Linked DNA regions of Homo sapiens: regions 2 and 3 are each linked to region 1. The links are contacts of gene promoters, found by promoter capture Hi-C in blood cells and fetal thymus (Javierre and others, 2016). All regions are on one chromosome and are shown on one strand. Each heading gives the region's core, a stretch centred on a gene start or on the middle of the fragment in contact. The rest is flanking DNA. Distances are from core to core; before and after follow the strand shown.

Region 1 (2,710 bases), core at 59-2,558:
GCCGCCTTGTCCTTGGCCTGCCGTTTCATCTTGTACCGGTGGTTCTGGAACCAGATCTTGACCTGCGTGGGCGTCAGGTGGATCATGCTGGCCAGGTGCTCGCGCTCGGGCGCCGACAGGTACTTCTGCTGCTTGAAGCGCCGCTCCAGCTCGTAGACCTGCGCCTGCGAGAAGAGCACGCGGCGCTTCCTTCGCGGAGCGGCTGCCGCCGCCGCCGCGTGCAGCGGGCCCAGCGACTTGGCGGCGTCCGCGATGCCGGTCAGCGACCCCATGCCGGCCACATTCACGCCCGCCGACGGCCCCATGAACCTGGAGACTGGGGAAGAGTCCCAAGGGGGAAGGCGAGTGAGCTCCAGGCCCGCCGGGAGCCGGTCCAGCCGCCGCTCTCTTCACGCCGCGGCCGCGACGCCGCCGGGCCCTCGCTGAATCCCAAGACCCCCTGACCGCCGCGGCCTCCGGCCCCAGCACGCCCCGCGCGCCCTCGGCGGGTCCCAGAGCACCACGCCCTCAACGGGTCCCAGGACGCCGCGCGCGTTCCCGGTCAGGTCCCAGGACCCCCCGCGCGCCCAGGGTCCCCAGAAACCCCGCGCGTCCCGGGCCGCGTCCCAGGACGCCCCGCGCGCCCGCTCGGCCCCAGGACCTCCTAAGCCGCGCGCACCCCGTCCCGCGCCCCCGCGCCCCTCGGCTGTGGCGGGAAACGCCTGAGCCGCCCGCAGCCCCGCGCTCCTGGCCCCTCTCACTTGACGAGTAGCGTGGGTCCGGGTTGGCGCCGTACCAGCCGGTGGCCGCGCCGCCCCGCATGCCGTCCGTGTAGGCGGGCAGCTCGCCCATGTTGCCCAGGCCGCCGTTGCAGTAGCTGCCCATGGCGCCGTGCGGGAACTGCGAGACGCCGGGCGGCATGTGGTAGGTGGCGGCCGCCGCCGCCGCAGCTGCTGCCGCCGCCGCCGCGGCCGCCGCGTTGTGACCCGCCATGGCGTGAGAAGGCTGCATGCCCGCCACGGTCGCCGCCTGCGAGGAGGGCCCAGGTGGCGGCGCGCGGTAGGCGGCCGCGGCCCCCAGGGGCGCCCCCAGGCCGGGTGGCGCGCCGTCCATGGCGCCGCTGAACTTCTTGTAGGTCTCCTCGATGGGGCTCAGGATGTCGGACACGGAGAAGGGCGTCGTGTGCTTTGGGCTCAACGACATGGCTCGGCGGGCAGCCAGGTAGGGGGGCCTGGGGCGCGCGCCGGCAGGACGCGGCGGCCGCTCGTCGCCGCCACCTCGGCCGCGGCAGCTGAGCCTGTGACGAGGAGTCGGCGGCTCGGCGAGCCCCCCGGGCTGCGGGATCTGGGGTTTATTTTAGTCCGGCGCCAGGTTTACGACAGACTCGGGGGGCGGAGCAACATCCCAAACGAGCAAACAATGGTCATTGACATCTTTTTCTCTCGCCCCCCCAACCCCCGCCCCATAATGGAGGCAAAAAAAGGTAAAAGGGGCAGTTGGGTGTTTCTTGGAAAGATCACTCCCCGTTGCTTTTCCCATCTTTGCTTTTCCCATCCTTTGCTTTTCCCATCCTTCGCTCCTCCATCCGCGGCCGTTACCCCAGCCCTCGAGCACCAGAAATAGAAACTCGGAGGCTGGCGTCGAGGCTAGACATGGACTCCGCGCCTGGCCCCTTCCAGATCCCAGTTTTCTAAAGTGACTTCGCACCAAAGTCCGGTATAATTGCGGAATGGGGAACGTGCTGCTAAGTTTGGGGGGAGGGTGTTGCGGGGGCTTGCTTCGTCCTCTCCAGTTATCAGCCCCTCATTCGCTCCATCACCTAAAGTGTTAAAAAAAAAAAAAAAGGCTCTTGGGTCCCACCGTAAGAGCGCATAAAGAGAGGAGGTACAATGACCGTCCTTTGCCATTGTAGGGCTCCCTAATTTATGCGTTTTTAGACCCTTAAGCATCATTTTGTGGGCAACCAAACGGGCACTTCCAAATTAGCTCAAAGTATCCAAGCCCAGAGAAGAGAGAAAACACACATACACTGATAAATACGCAGATGCTAACTTGTAAGTATTCTGTTTTTCCTCTGTGGGGATGGAAATTGAACAAGGGAAAGAGGGGGAACATTTTTATTTCCTAAAATGTTTCCTACTGAGTTTGCACTTGTAAAGTTTTTTCTGCTTTCTTTCCCTTTGTGTGTGTTCTTACTCTCTTTCTCTCAGTAAATATCTCTGACTTAAGTTTATTCTCCCATCACTACCGTGATCAAAAAGAAGAGAAAGACAAAATATCAAAACTTCCAAATATTTCTAGTTGTTCGCAACGGGTCTTTTTGTTGTTGTTGGAAAAATATAACCTGTTCAAGCGATATGAAAATGGATGCAGAAATCAGGTGAAAATTGTAGTTTCTTTGGAAAAATACAAAACCATAGATAAACAGATTTTTAAAACTTTGTCATCCTTTGACTTGCAGTTTTACCCGAATACTTAGACATTATGAACTCTCTACTAAATACTGAACAAGACAAAGCATAAGACAAAAGCAGTGTGCAAAGCATATTGATTAAATTTTGAAAACAATCTTGCAGCAATAATAATGATAACGAGAAAACAAAGATAACACTTTTAAGTTTTCCTGGAAACTGGAGCAGGAGAAAGAAAAACAAGGAGAGTGCTTTCTTAAGCAATATTTTGTTTTATTTTTTTTCCAGAAAAGGGTGTGTGGAATCGATTTAAGTTTAAC
Region 2 (2,710 bases), core at 145-2,644, 90 kb before region 1:
CGGCGCCCGGCCCATCTTTCTTCCTTTAAATCGTTTTCTTAGTTTTTATTCTTAATTCTTTTTTTTTTTTTTTTGAGACGGAGCCTCGCTCTGTCTCCCAGGCTGGAGTGCAGTGGCTCAATCAATCTCGGCTCACTGCAAGCTCCGCCTTCGGGGTTCACGCCATTCTCCTGCCTCAGCCTCCTAAGTAGCTGGGACTACAGGCGCCCGCCACCACGCCTGGCTAATTTTTTTGTACTTTTAGTAGAGACGGGGTTTCACCGTGTTAGCCAGGATGGTCTCGATCTCCTGACCTTCTGATCCGCCTGCCTTGGCCTCCTTATTCTTAATTCTTAAGAAATGCTGTGTGGGATGTGAGATTTCCGAGTCATTGTAGGACCCAAAATAGCTCCATTCTACCCTTATACACGTGAATGATCATTAGCTAGGCATGGAATTCGAGGTGTTTTTTTTTTCTTCTTCTTTGAGACGGAGTCTAGCTCTGTCACCCAGGCAGGAGTGCAGTGGTGTGATATCGGCTCACTGCAGCCTCCACTTCCCGGGTTCAAGCCGTTCTCCTGCCTCAGCCTCCCGAGTAGCTGGGACTACAGGCGCGCCACCACGCCCGGCTAATTTTTGTAGTTTTAGTAGAGACGGAGTTTCACCATGTTGGCCAAGCTGATCTTGAACTCCTGACCTCAGGTGATCCACCAGCCCCTGCCTCCCAAAGTGCTGGGATTACAGGCATGAGCCACCGCACCTGGCCAGGAATTCCAGTTTTAATATTAGGTTCCCTCAGAACTTTGAAAGAAATTGTTCTTTTGTACTCTCTCATCTAGTAGTGTTGATGACAAGTTCGGTGTTAATGTGATGTATTTATTTAACCAGCAGTTATATAGCATTTACCATTGTTTTAAGAACTTTATTATAACTTGTTTGATCCTCACAACCACATGACTTCTACTGTTGTAATTATTTTTATTACATACAAATAATAGAAGCACGTTATTTGGAGACAACCAATATTGTTATTATGTTATAATAATTACTATGTTTATTGGCCGGGTGCGGTGGCTCACGACTGTAATCCCAGCACTTTGGGAGGCTGAGGTGGGTGGATCACGAGGTCAAGAGATCCAGACCATCCTGGCTAACATGGTGAAACCCCATCTCTACTAAAAATACAAAAATTAGCTGCGCATGGTGGCGCGCCTGTAGTCCCAGCTACTTGGGAGGCTGAGGCAGGAGAATCACTTGCACCCGGGAGACAGACATTGCAGTGAGCCGAGATCCCGCCACTGCACTCCAGCCTGGTGACAGAGCGAGACTCCATCTCAGAAAAATAATGATTATTGTTATGTTTATTATTATTTCAGATGAGAAAATGGAAACACAGCAGGGTCGCGTATCATACCCAAGGTCACTCAGCTGATAAATGTCAGAGCTAGTGTGGAAACCAGAAGGACTTAATTTTTATGCTCATATGCTTTCATTCTTTTGTGATCAGTTTTCCTTCCTAGATTTTAAAAAGATCTTTTTCTTGATAGTGTAAACTTTCATTATTAGGTACCCAGGTATAGATGTTATTTTAAATTCAGATTCATTTTGATCAGTACGTGGCTCACTCTTTGAGTCTGGAGTCTTACGTTCTTCGGTTTTAGGGAATGCTGTTTGATGATTTCTTGACCTTTTTTTCTTCCCTTTCCAGACTCAGGATACTGGTCCTCTTAGACTCATGTATTTTTATTTTTATTTTCTCTCTCATTCTCTGGCTTTCCTTGAAACCTCCCCCAACCTTTGGTGTTTTTGCAGCTTTGTTGAGGTATACTTGACATAGAATAAACTGCAGGTAATTAAAGTGTACAATTTTCTTTTAACTTTTTTCGAGTTGAGGTCTTGCTCTGTCACCAGGCTGGAATGTAGTGTGCAATCATGGCTCACTGCAGCCTCAAAGTCCTGGGCTTAAAGTATATAATTTAATACAGTGCATACATCTGTGAAACCAGCACAACCAAGACAGTGAACGTGACCTCTAAAACATTCCTTCTGCCCTTTTGTAGTTCCTTTCTACTATCCCTCCCTGCCACCTGTCTTTTGCCAACCACTGACTGGTTTGCTTTCTGACCGTATGATAAGTTTTCATTTTCTATAATTTTTTATAAATGAGATTATATAGTATATACTCATTTTTTGCCTCAGTTACTTTCATTCAGTATACTTATTTTGAAATTCTTCCGTTGTTGTATGTGTCAGTAGTTTATTTCTTTTTTGTTTTTATTTTTTTTTGAGATGGAGTCTCGCTCTGTCGCCCAGGCTGGAGTGCAGTGGTGCGATCTCGGCTCACTGCAACCTCCACCTTCTGGGTTCAAGCAATTCTCCTGCCTCAGCCTCCCAAGCAGCTGGGATTACAGGCACATGCCACCACACCCGGCTAATTTTTGTATTTTTAGTAGAGATGGAGTTTCACCATGTTGGCCAGGCTGGTCTTGAACTCCTGACCTCAAGTATCTGCCTGCCTCGTCTTTTAATTTTTGGATAGTATTCTGTGTGTAGATACACCACATTTTATTTATTTATTCAGATGATTGATGAACATTGGGATTGTTTCCAGTTTTTGGCTTTCTGAAAAAGAAACCTATGAACATCTCTGTACAAGTCATTGTAGGGACGTATGCTTGCATTTGTTTGGGGGAAAAACATTAGGAGTGAAATGGTTGGATTGTATATTAGG
Region 3 (2,710 bases), core at 60-2,559, 66 kb before region 1:
TAGGTTAATTTATTTCTTTCTATCATTTTAGGGAACTGAATTCATGGACAATCTTGCTAAATGCCTTCGCTATTACATAGCTGATCGTTTAAATAATGACCCTGGGTGGAAAAATTTGACAGTAAGTTTCACATTTTGATACTTCAGAAAGATTAGGGTGATCATTCGAGGCTGTACTTTGATATGACTGACATTATTTATCCTTCTGCCCTGCCCCATAAAATGCTAGTTGACTGTTGGAAGAAAGAAAAGCTTCCAGGGTTTTTGGAGATGGGGTATCCTTGCATGGTTAGGTTTTAGATAGCTGAATTTTCTCTTAAAGCCAATTTTGTCCTCTTACCATCACTATGAAGCTATAAAATGGGATTCATAATTTAAAAAATATATATAGGAAAGTAATTTTTAAATGGAAATTTCCATTATTACATATCAATATACAGCAAAATTAGTAAGTTGTGGGGCTGTCTTAAATGGCTGTGTTCCCAAATATTTAAATAATATGTAAATGAACTTGTTTGTAATTTTAGGTTCATAAGCTGGCTTCCCTATTAATGAGAAATGGTAAATTATATTTTATAGATATGTGTTATTGATTATTCTTGGGGCATATATGGTTCAGCACTATATCCTTGCATAGTAGTGAAAATAGGAGCTTGTGAATGATCAGTTTTTCTGATGGCTAGGTCTGACCCAGACATTTCATTCCTTTCCATTACATGTAGTAAGTCAATCAATGAAGTGGTTTTGGTGTCTCTCACACACACACACCCCTTCTTTATTCAGAAAATTTTCAGTGAAGTAGTTTTGGTGTTTTTCACACACACACACACACACACACACACACACACACACACCCTTATTCAGAAAATTTTCCCGTAACACTTATCTCAGTTTTTCTTGAGACATATAATTCTTTTGATTTTTGTGCCTATAGAAAATTGGGGATAATCTGAAAGTGTTAACAATTTTTTTATAGGTTATTTTATCTGATGCTAGTGCTCCTGGTGAAGGAGAACATAAAATCATGGATTACATTAGAAGGCAAAGAGGTAAAGCTTACTTACCAATATTTGATTATATGTTCTATTTTTAAAAAGCCATTGCATAGAAAATACTTGGTATGAAGTGATATTCTTGTGGTATATAATATATTAATATAAATACATGTTTCTCTCTTGTTTAGCCCAGCCTAACCATGACCCAAATACTCATCATTGTTTATGTGGAGCAGATGGTAAGTTTCTTCTTTGGGATTTGCTTCTTTTGGATTAAACCATAGCAAGTTGATGGGTTGGTGTGCAGTAATGGATTATTCATGGTTACCTGGAAGTTCCAAAATGCCTTGGTTATTTTATGTTCGACAGGGAACTAGTATTGAGTTGCTGTTTAATCTGTGGTCAATGATCTTTAATTTCTTTTCTTCTTTCTTACATTTTTCAACCTTTTAACTCCCCATACCTTTAAAATGGAGAATTTCCCAAGTGTTTAATCCTTAGTGGCAGTCTATGTTGTAGGTCCACGTATCTAGAGGACTTCCTGTTAACTGGGAAATGCCAGGAAGTGTCAAGCTTTGGGGCTTTGCTGCTCATTTGGGTGCTCATTTGGGCTTTTCTTTGTGTTGGCATCTCATAGTAGTTTATGGTAAGACTTCTCTCAGAATACTCACTGTTCGATGTTTTTCTCATTGTTGATTGATAGCTGATCTCATTATGCTTGGCCTTGCCACACATGAACCGAACTTTACCATTATTAGAGAAGAATTCAAACCAAACAAGCCCAAACCATGTGGTCTTTGTAATCAGTTTGGACATGAGGTCAAAGATTGTGAAGGTTTGCCAAGAGAAAAGAAGGGAAAGGTAAGAACTTTGAGATGGTAGTTGCCTCATTAAAAAAAAAAATCTATTGTGGTAAAATGTATATGACATAAAATATCATTTCAACCATTTTAAAGTATACAATTAAATAGCATTAAATATTTGAGTTACCTTGTTTTTAAAATGGATGAAGAGAAGATTGTGGTTGATTAGTTCTTTATGTGCTTGTTCTGTTACCGTTACCCTTCACAGAGATGTATCTTTTTTCTTTTTTTTTTCTTTTGAGACAGTCTCGACAGAGACGAATCTTTTAAAGTACTTTAAAATAAACCTGCATTCAAAAACATGCACACACTCATCCTTTCTACTTAGCACTTTTTCTGATATTGCCTATATCTACACGAGGCTTAGTTCCCATAGATAATAATGCCCATAGCTTGTAATTTGTTTGTGGAAGTTATTTGTTTGAAATACTCTTCTTAAAAGGAACTACAACTTCTTAAGACTTTTAAGTTACTCCCACTTTTTATGTATTTTAGGTTCACTTGGTTATGTCCAGTCCCCTTTAAAGGGGCTTCTGTTTCAATAATATGGTGCCTCTTGAGTCATATGCTTTTTGAGGGGGGAAAAAGAATATGGTGCCTCTTTCAAAGACATCGTTAAGTGAAAAAAGAGATAAATATAGTGTATTATTTCAGATATGTAATACAATAAAGACAGTATACATGTATCTATGCACATCTGTTCACAAGGAAGGGGTAATCATTGGTTGGGTATAGGTCATCAGTTGGCAAACTTCAATCCTCCAGGTTTGGCCTGTGAGCTATGTTTTTTACATTTTTAAAGTGTTGTTAAAAACAAAATAAAACATGAAAGACTATTAAACAGAGATCATA

Evidence for each region. Contacts are between HindIII fragments. The CHiCAGO score rates a contact against its expected background, and 5 or more counts as called.
Region 2: a fragment that was not itself captured here is called in contact with the fragment with the promoter of NKX2-4 in region 1 in 1 of 17 cell types (activated CD4 T cells); the score reaches 8.2 in activated CD4 T cells.
Region 3: a fragment that was not itself captured here is called in contact with the fragment with the promoter of NKX2-4 in region 1 in 1 of 17 cell types (activated CD4 T cells); the score reaches 5.4 in activated CD4 T cells.

What each region holds. Positions count from the first base shown.
Region 1 is chr20:21,396,218-21,398,927 of GRCh38, forward strand. NKX2-4 (NK2 homeobox 4) reads right to left here and starts at 1,309. Exons shown (of 2, transcript NM_033176.2): 1 at 741-1,309; 2 at 1-316. The coding sequence starts at 1,182. It overlaps LOC105372558 (a long non-coding RNA gene), which reads left to right and starts at 1,717. Exons shown (of 4, transcript XR_001754528.1): 1 at 1,717-2,359. The HindIII fragment of the contact is 6,496 bases long and covers 1-2,710 here.
Region 2 is chr20:21,305,690-21,308,399 of GRCh38, forward strand. All of the region lies in intron 1 of XRN2 (5'-3' exoribonuclease 2), which reads left to right. Among named protein-coding and RNA genes, the nearest start is that of XRN2, 3.7 kb to the left of the region's middle. The HindIII fragment of the contact is 4,700 bases long and covers 1-2,710 here.
Region 3 is chr20:21,330,585-21,333,294 of GRCh38, forward strand. XRN2 (5'-3' exoribonuclease 2) reads left to right here. Exons shown (of 30, transcript NM_012255.5): 6 at 32-121; 7 at 977-1,049; 8 at 1,184-1,234; 9 at 1,699-1,856. Among named protein-coding and RNA genes, the nearest start is that of XRN2, 29 kb to the left of the region's middle. The HindIII fragment of the contact is 513 bases long and covers 1,054-1,566 here.